Regions from separate parts of the Homo sapiens genome. Here region 1 is linked to region 2. Evidence: promoter capture Hi-C in human tissues and cell types (Jung and others, 2019). All regions are on one chromosome and are shown on one strand. Each heading gives the region's core, a stretch centred on a gene start or on the middle of the fragment in contact. The rest is flanking DNA. Distances are from core to core; before and after follow the strand shown.

The links. The method cuts DNA at HindIII sites, captures the fragments that hold promoters and counts their contacts. A contact is called where the count stands out against the background at its distance.
Region 1: a contact is called between a fragment that was not itself captured here and the fragment with the promoter of PTBP3 in region 2, in 1 of the 25 tissues and cell types used here (IMR-90 fibroblasts).

The regions. Positions count from the first base shown.
Region 1 is chr9:112,468,636-112,472,272 of GRCh38, reverse strand. HSDL2 (hydroxysteroid dehydrogenase like 2) reads right to left here. Exons shown (of 11, transcript NM_032303.5): 11 at 1-1,841. The coding sequence ends at 1,729. HSDL2-AS1 (HSDL2 antisense RNA 1) reads left to right here. Exons shown (of 5, transcript NR_171779.1): 3 at 2,436-2,550. Among named protein-coding and RNA genes, the nearest start is that of KIAA1958, 16 kb to the left of the region's middle. The HindIII fragment of the contact is 3,336 bases long and covers 188-3,523 here.
Region 2 is chr9:112,331,913-112,335,649 of GRCh38, reverse strand. It overlaps PTBP3 (polypyrimidine tract binding protein 3), which reads left to right and starts at 2,031. Exons shown (of 14, transcript NM_001163788.4): 1 at 2,031-2,180. RefSeq lists an enhancer at 987-1,957 and silencers at 1,707-2,026, 2,177-2,666. The HindIII fragment of the contact is 19,118 bases long and covers 1-3,737 here.

The DNA of each region.
Region 1 (3,637 bases), core at 606-3,105, 140 kb before region 2:
AGCATAGTAGACACAGCAGATTGGTTAACATCAGGTTACTTCAGGTTACGTTCCTTGTGTGGATTAAAGCAGAGGGGGCTTCCTCATCATAATCACGCTTGCTCACGTTGACTGGACTCCCTTTGATCAGTTGCTGTGAATCTCCTGACTTGTTGAAACTGTCCTATTTTTAAGTTCACTTTGATTACATGGACTCCATTCCTGGATGGAGAGGTGAGATCTTGGAGTTCCATTCAACATAAATGTATTGTAAAGTTTTTGTTAGAGGGCTTGTTAATGTTGGCCTTGGGCTAGTCCTTTCCCATCTCTGATCCTCTGCTTCCTAACTTGTAAAATACAGATTAAATGCTCCTAACATTATGAATCTAAGAAATGTCAGGATTAGCTAAATTGCTTAATGGCACAACAATATTAGAGTGGAAGCTGAGAAGCAAAATTGTTACACTGAGCAAGTATTTTTAACTGATTGAAATGAAAGATAAGAGCTTTTTAAAAGTTTATCTTCCCCTCAACCCTCCCAGCCTCTCAAACCACTGTATTAGCTTGCTAGGGCTGCCATAATAAAATACCACAGATTGGGGGGCTTTTTAAATTAATTTATTAGGGGGGTAGAGATAGGGTCTTACTATGTTGTCCAGGCTGGCCTTGAACTCCTGGCCTCAAGCAATCCTCCTGCGTCGGCCTCCCACAGTGGACGGCTTAACAACAGAAATTTATTTCTCACTATTCTGGAGATTAGAAGTCAAAGATCAAGGTGCTGGTGATTTTGTTTCTTCTGAAGCCTCTCTCTTTGCTTGCAGATAACTGCCTTCTCACTGTGTCCTCTCCTGGTCTTTGTTCTGTGCACACATTGCTGGTATCTCTTATGTCCAAAGGACACCATGTTGGATTAGACTAACAGCCTCCTTTGAACTTAAGTCACCTCTTTAAAGGCCTCATCTCCGAACAGTCACATTCAAAAGAAATGGGAGTTAGGACCTCAACAAATGAATTGGGGGATACACAGTTCAGCCCATACCAATGACCTATTCTAAGGTTTCTGTTTCAAAACACTGTAGCCAAATGCATACTCCTAGGGAGAAAATTATTTTGTTTTAGGACAATTTAAACATATTTTTAAATGGAATACATGCAGCAATTTGTTAAATTACATTAGTAATATTTTCCTATGGCTAAGTCCACCTGGAAAGCTAGTTATCAAAATGAAAAATTATTGTTTCATTTAGTCCTCGCCAGTACTAATTCATTTTTTATAATTTTTGTAAAATGTACTATATAAGATTTTCTTTAAAATAAGTATATAAAAATCAAAAACATCATTAAGATTTTCATTAGTATACAATCCAAAACTAAAAATTTTAAAACAGACTAGCTTCATTTTACATGACAAGAAGATTTGAAAGAGCTAATTTTACTGCTTGATCTGACTGTCCGCCCAAAATACTTTTCTTGGAGAAAGACAGTGAATGAGATGTAAGGCTCAAAGGGTTAAACCCTTGAAATATAAAAACACAGACTGTCTTAGAATCCCACTTAATGAAGCTTATGTTTGATTAGCTTGCCATTTTAATTACAATTTCAAGTCTTTTAGAGACAAATTCTATCTTTTCCAGAACAAACGTGCATATCCTTATAATATAACAGGAAAGAAAACAAACATTAGATTTTAACTGTTGAGCTTTTTTTACTTTTTGAGCATAGCAGTCGACTTTTTTTTTATATTTTCCTTCACAGTCTGGCATTCATCTGATTCATTAGCTTCTCCAATTTGATTGCTAGGGCCATGTTACCTTTAATCTTCAATTTCCCTGACATGAATGCCATTGTTGGTTTTAGTTTCCCTAAAATGAGAAAATGAGAGAGGGAAAAGCAACCATTAGTGCCCTTAGGGATATATTGCTTTAAGAACACGCATTGTAAAAAGAATCTCCTTGAGTTCTATAAACCTCAGAAGCATAGAAATTTCTGTTACAGCATTTTATATCAGTATCTTGGGAATCCCAATTCCTAGACTTAGATGTTAACAATATCCTATTAAGAGCTAGCATAAAAACAACAATCAGCAAAAGATTATAGCAAATGTTTTTACACCAAAAAGATTTTTATACACTAAAGGATACACGGCCCTCAAATGAATTCTGGTAAACAAATACTGTCTATTTTAGTTAATTTTCCAACTTACGATAGTTCATTAAACTTTTGACATTTCAAGTTCAAAAAACCAAATGGTGTAAATGAACAAAATAGTCTTAAGAAATGATCATTAAAAGTATAGTGTATGGACACAAAATATGTGTTAGCATTACTTTAACCACAGAAATGCCAGGGTATAAAAAAATGTAAGCATTAAAATAGAATTGTACCTAATAACAACATGTAATAAATATGAGCTCCATGGAGAGAAGTACATTTGTTATCTGCTACTCTTATTCCAGTGTCAGTACGGGGTCTATCACATAGTGGAATTAATGAGGAAACAGACTCAAAAAGGATTTTGGCTTGCTCAAGGTCACACAGCTTGTATGAGGCAGTGCTGCAATTTAAAGCCAGGTATGTCTGCCTTTCATTTATGACTTTTTTTCCTTTTTTTTTTTTTTTTTTTTTTTGAGACAAGGTCTCACTCTGTCTCCCAGGCTGGAGTACATGTACAGTGGAGTACATGGCTTACTGCAGCCTTGACTTCCCAGGCTCATCTGAACCTCCCACCTCAGCCTCCTGAGTAGCTGGACTACAGGCAAGCAACACCATGCAGGGCTAATTTTTTATAGAGATGGGGTTTTGCCATGTTGCCCAGGCTGGTCTCAAGTGATCCACCTGCCTCCCAGAGTGCTGAGATTACAGATGTGAGCCATCTGGCCCAGCCTCATTTATGATTTTCTGTCTTACATTATGCTAATTGATATAGATGACATATCTTCTAGAAGGCACAATATGTGTTTGGTTTATTAGTAGCTTAGTAGCCACCCTCCCCACCCCTGTGCCCCACACAGGTTCTTTGCAGAGAAAGTGTGTGAGTTAATATATTATATATATATTATATTAAGCTATTAAATGCCTTTAAATTATTCTAAATAGAGGTTATAGCAAAGCCTCATGGAGTTATTATAGGTAGAAAGGATCAAGTCCAACTCTTTTATTTTAATGAATAAACTGAGCTGTGTCCTACTTTAAGACAGTGTGATGTTAAAATCCCAATACTTACAAATAATAAATGAAGGGGTAACTTTTATTTACATGGAGGATACTGAAAGATCTTTATTCTGGAAGGAACAGAACAGCCCGTCCAAAAACACAGATACAGACATCTGGGTGTCCTTCAGCTAAATCAACTGGATCATGCTCTGTTATTCTACAGTGAAGCCTACCATTCCACCCACCCCACTCACACACATCTTCCAATGAGCTTTGCAGAGCCTTGCCCATAGAGATGAATGGACATCAAATATAACCAAAACCAAAACACAGATAAGAGCAACTTGGAGGAAACAGAATGCTGGCTCAGACAAAAGATAACTAAAGTAGAGTAAATGGAGAACAAATTAAAAATTCCACAATCTCTGCCCTCAGAGATAAAAGAAAATAATACAGCAAGGGATGGGGAACAGGATGCAGGTGGAGAAAGAGGGAAGAGGAGGAG
Region 2 (3,737 bases), core at 782-3,281:
TGCCCAGCTATAATCCAGGATTTTTAGGTGAAAAAAAAAAAAAAAAAAAAGAAAAATGGTAAAGGTCGCTGGGTGCGGTGGCTCACACCTGTAATCCCAGCACTTTGGGAGGCTGAGGTGGGTGGATCACAAGGTCAGGAGTTCGAGACCAGCCTGACCAACATGGTGAAACCCTGTCTCTACTAAAAACACAAAAACTAGCCAGGCGTGGTGGCGGGCGCCTGTAATCGCAGCTACTCAGGAGGCTGAGGCAGGAGAATCACTTGAACTCGGGAGGCAGAGGTTGCAGTGAGCTCAGATTGTGCCACTGCACTCCAGCCTGGGAGACAGAGCAAGACTCCGTCTCAAAACAAAAAAACAAAAAAACAAAAAAACAAACAACAAAAAAAAGTAAGGTCCAGAAGGATGCACGCAGAATTGTTACAGTGGTAGTCATGGGCAGGGGGTGGTTTGGGAAGAAAAATATTAATGATAACTTTTCAATATTTTATAGTGCTTGAATTTTCCAAAATGAGCATTTATGCTGATATTACTTGTGTAGCTAAAAAAAGGGTTAAGGAAATTTCATCAACAGAATATATCCCAAATACAGTGATAGAAAGACTGCATCAGCTACTTATCTTGTTGATATTCTACATTTCCATCTGGCAATGTTTACAAATGCAACTTAATATTTAGATTTAATATACAAAACAAAATGTATTTGACATTTTGGAAGGGGACTGAGGTTAGATACAGGACTTTAAGAATTACCTCACCGAATTACTCTACCTATTTGAAAAGTTGTATGTCAAAAATATACATAAACGGACTGAAGAATCCATTCAACAGTGACGGCTGGAACCTGATTTTCTTGTGTATTCATGCAGTGCCCGGCACATAGTAGGTTAATACTGACTGAATGATGAATGAGTCCACAGTTTAGATCTTTTTAGCAGCACCTACTGATCTGAAAGCAGGAAATTAGCAAGGATAGATGTTTGAGGTTCTTGTTAGTTGCTTTTCAAATGACGAAGCCACGGGGAGGAGCCCCGCTCTTTTTTACTCAGTAGGTTAAGAATTTGGCTTAACAGTTTAGGGGGTTACATTTTGGTGATCTGTGAGTTGAAAAAGTACTCAATTTCTCACTAAAAAGGGAAAAAAGCAAGCGTGTTGTCACTCGTTATATTATATATATACTTTTTGCTCAGACCAGAGGGAAGGGCTCTGGTGCAAACGTTTCCTGGTTGTGAAACTGTGAGCAAATCACTCTCTTTGTATATGTATTTTCATCTGAAAAAAGGGAATAATGAGTAAACTTTTAAAAAATGCTGGGAATATAGCCATTCCATGTTTGTACAATGAATTTTTCATATAAATTCAATACTAGACGGTTAGGTCGAAATGCACTCAGATACTTAAATTGTATACAAATTCCAGTCCGGGCAGCCTCTTTCACCTCATTCATCGTCCCAGCCACACCTATGGGGCTGGTGTCGGTCCCAGCGGTCGACTCCAGCGCCGGGCTGCCAGAGGCTGGTCCCTGGACGTGTCATCTACAGCCTCGCGCACCCGGGGCAATTCCACCTCGTTTCTGGGGTCCTTGTGGGACATTCCTTCCTACTCTTGGGAGTCAGGTCCCCATAGCTTTTCCTGCCGGCAGAGGGAGGCATTCAAACCTGGCAGGCCCGGTCTGCGAAGCCGGAAGGCCCGCGGGGCCGCGGGAGGGCGGGCGGGGTGCGCGGCGGAGCGGGAAGCACAAGGCGCGCGCTCCCGCGAACGCAGGAGGGAGGCTGGGGGCGCGCGCGCGCGCCGGGCCGAGGGGCCGAGAGGCGGGGTCTTACAGCGACCGCGGGAAGAGGGCGCCCCAGAGCTGAGCCGGAGGCCGGCTGCCAGCGGGGCGAGGGTGGGCGCGAGCGCAGGGGCGGGCCCCGAGGGAGGGCGGGGACGGTGAGGGGGCGGGGTCGGGCTAGGCGGGGACGCGCTCGCGGGGTGGGGAAGGCGGGGGCGCGGCGGTGGCGGGAGCGTGCCCGGTCCCCGCCCCTGTTCCCACTCTCCTTCCACCTCGGACCGGCCGGGGCTCCGCAGAGCCAAAGCTCGCTTGTCCCCGGAACCGCCCTGCTGCCGCCGCCTGCTTCCTCTGCTCGCGGTTAGCCCGTCAGTCCCTGCTCTGTGCGCGCCTCCATCTGGGCCATGGATGGGTAAGTACTAGGCGGCGCGGCGGCCGCACCGGGTTGCCTTGGCGCCGCTTCCACCCGGCTCTCCGCGGGACGCGTAAGGGCTGGGGAGCAGTGCGCGGCGCCGGCGGCCGGAGGAGCGGCCCCGGCCAAGCCCGACGGCGGGGCTTCCGGGCGTCTCGGTGGGGATCCCGGAATCGCGGAGTTGCCGTCCGCCGCAGGCTCTCCTTTCCCCACGCGGCGCCCCGGACACGTCCGCTGCTTCCTAGCCTTACTCGACACACCCGGGAGCAGAGGAAAGCCCGGTCCGGCCGCGGTGCCGAGGTCCGCCCTCCGCGCCCCGAGTCCGGGGAGCCCAGCTCGGCCTCCCGACACTTCCTCTCAGAAAATGGTGCGCGGCGCTGGGGGAGGCGGAGGCGGCGCGCGGGGCGGGCGTCCTCCTGCCGGGGGAGTTGCTGTTTACCGGCGAGGTGGGGCGAGCGGCCGACGGCGGGTGCACGCGTCGGTACACGTCTGGGCGGCGACCTGGTCGCAAGCCATGGTCCCACGCGGGGTCCCAGGGCCGCCGCGGGACTTGGCCGAGGTCTCCCGACTTGTGCTGTGAGATACGTTAACGCTTTCTCGACACCAGGGGTCTGGACTTAGTGACCATGGACGCTTCCCCCTCACCTTTCTCTCTCCCCAAGAAACTTAATGAATTATCTGCCCGTGTATGTAAAATATGATGTACGAGCGATTTTCGGGGGCATTTCAAATGCTCAAAAATTTAATGGGGGTCCGTGACCAAAATAAAAAGATTTAGAGTCTATGTATATAAACTGTTCTCTGGGGACTCAGGGATATGGGGTGGGACTTGACATATTTTGGTAATTAAAGTAACAACTATGTTAGGATTTTGGTGAATTAATTGAAGGTTGTAGTATCTGTACCTACGGATTAAAAAAAAATCTCCAACTCGGTTTATTCCCATTATGTATTTGAGGTTTTTTTTAGCTTGTTACCTACTTTTGATGACAAGATTTCTGTGAGGTTGTGGAATATATGCAACTTGCTAGAACAGTAAAAGTCGTTCACATGTTGCCATACAGTTGATGATATGCTATTTGAAGATGAAATCTTCCAACAGCTTTTGACCTCATTAGATTTCATTTATTTTAGTTTCACAATATTAAGTGTATATGACATTTCGGATTGATTCATTTGAATGCAGATTGCACACTGCTACAGACATCAAAGTGGAGTTTTAGATTTTATTCATGATTGTGATGTTCTTTATTTTTATTTGATTGAAGCTTCAAAAAATTTCTTAAAATTATAACTTTTTTGGGTACACAGTAGGTGTATATATTTTGGGGGGGAATTGAAGCTGTTTTTATTGTTTGATTGAAGTTTCTTCGAGAACATTGTTGAAAACTTATTTCACATTACCTTATTCAGTTGCATTTTATATGTTGAAAAATTTTGTGGTCGTAAAGATTTGTGTCACTAATATTTTGGTTCAGGCAGGCTGTGAATTTAGCATTTCATTATGTGTAGTTAATTGTCTGGAAGGTTTGACTTAAATAATGGAAGCAGGCTATT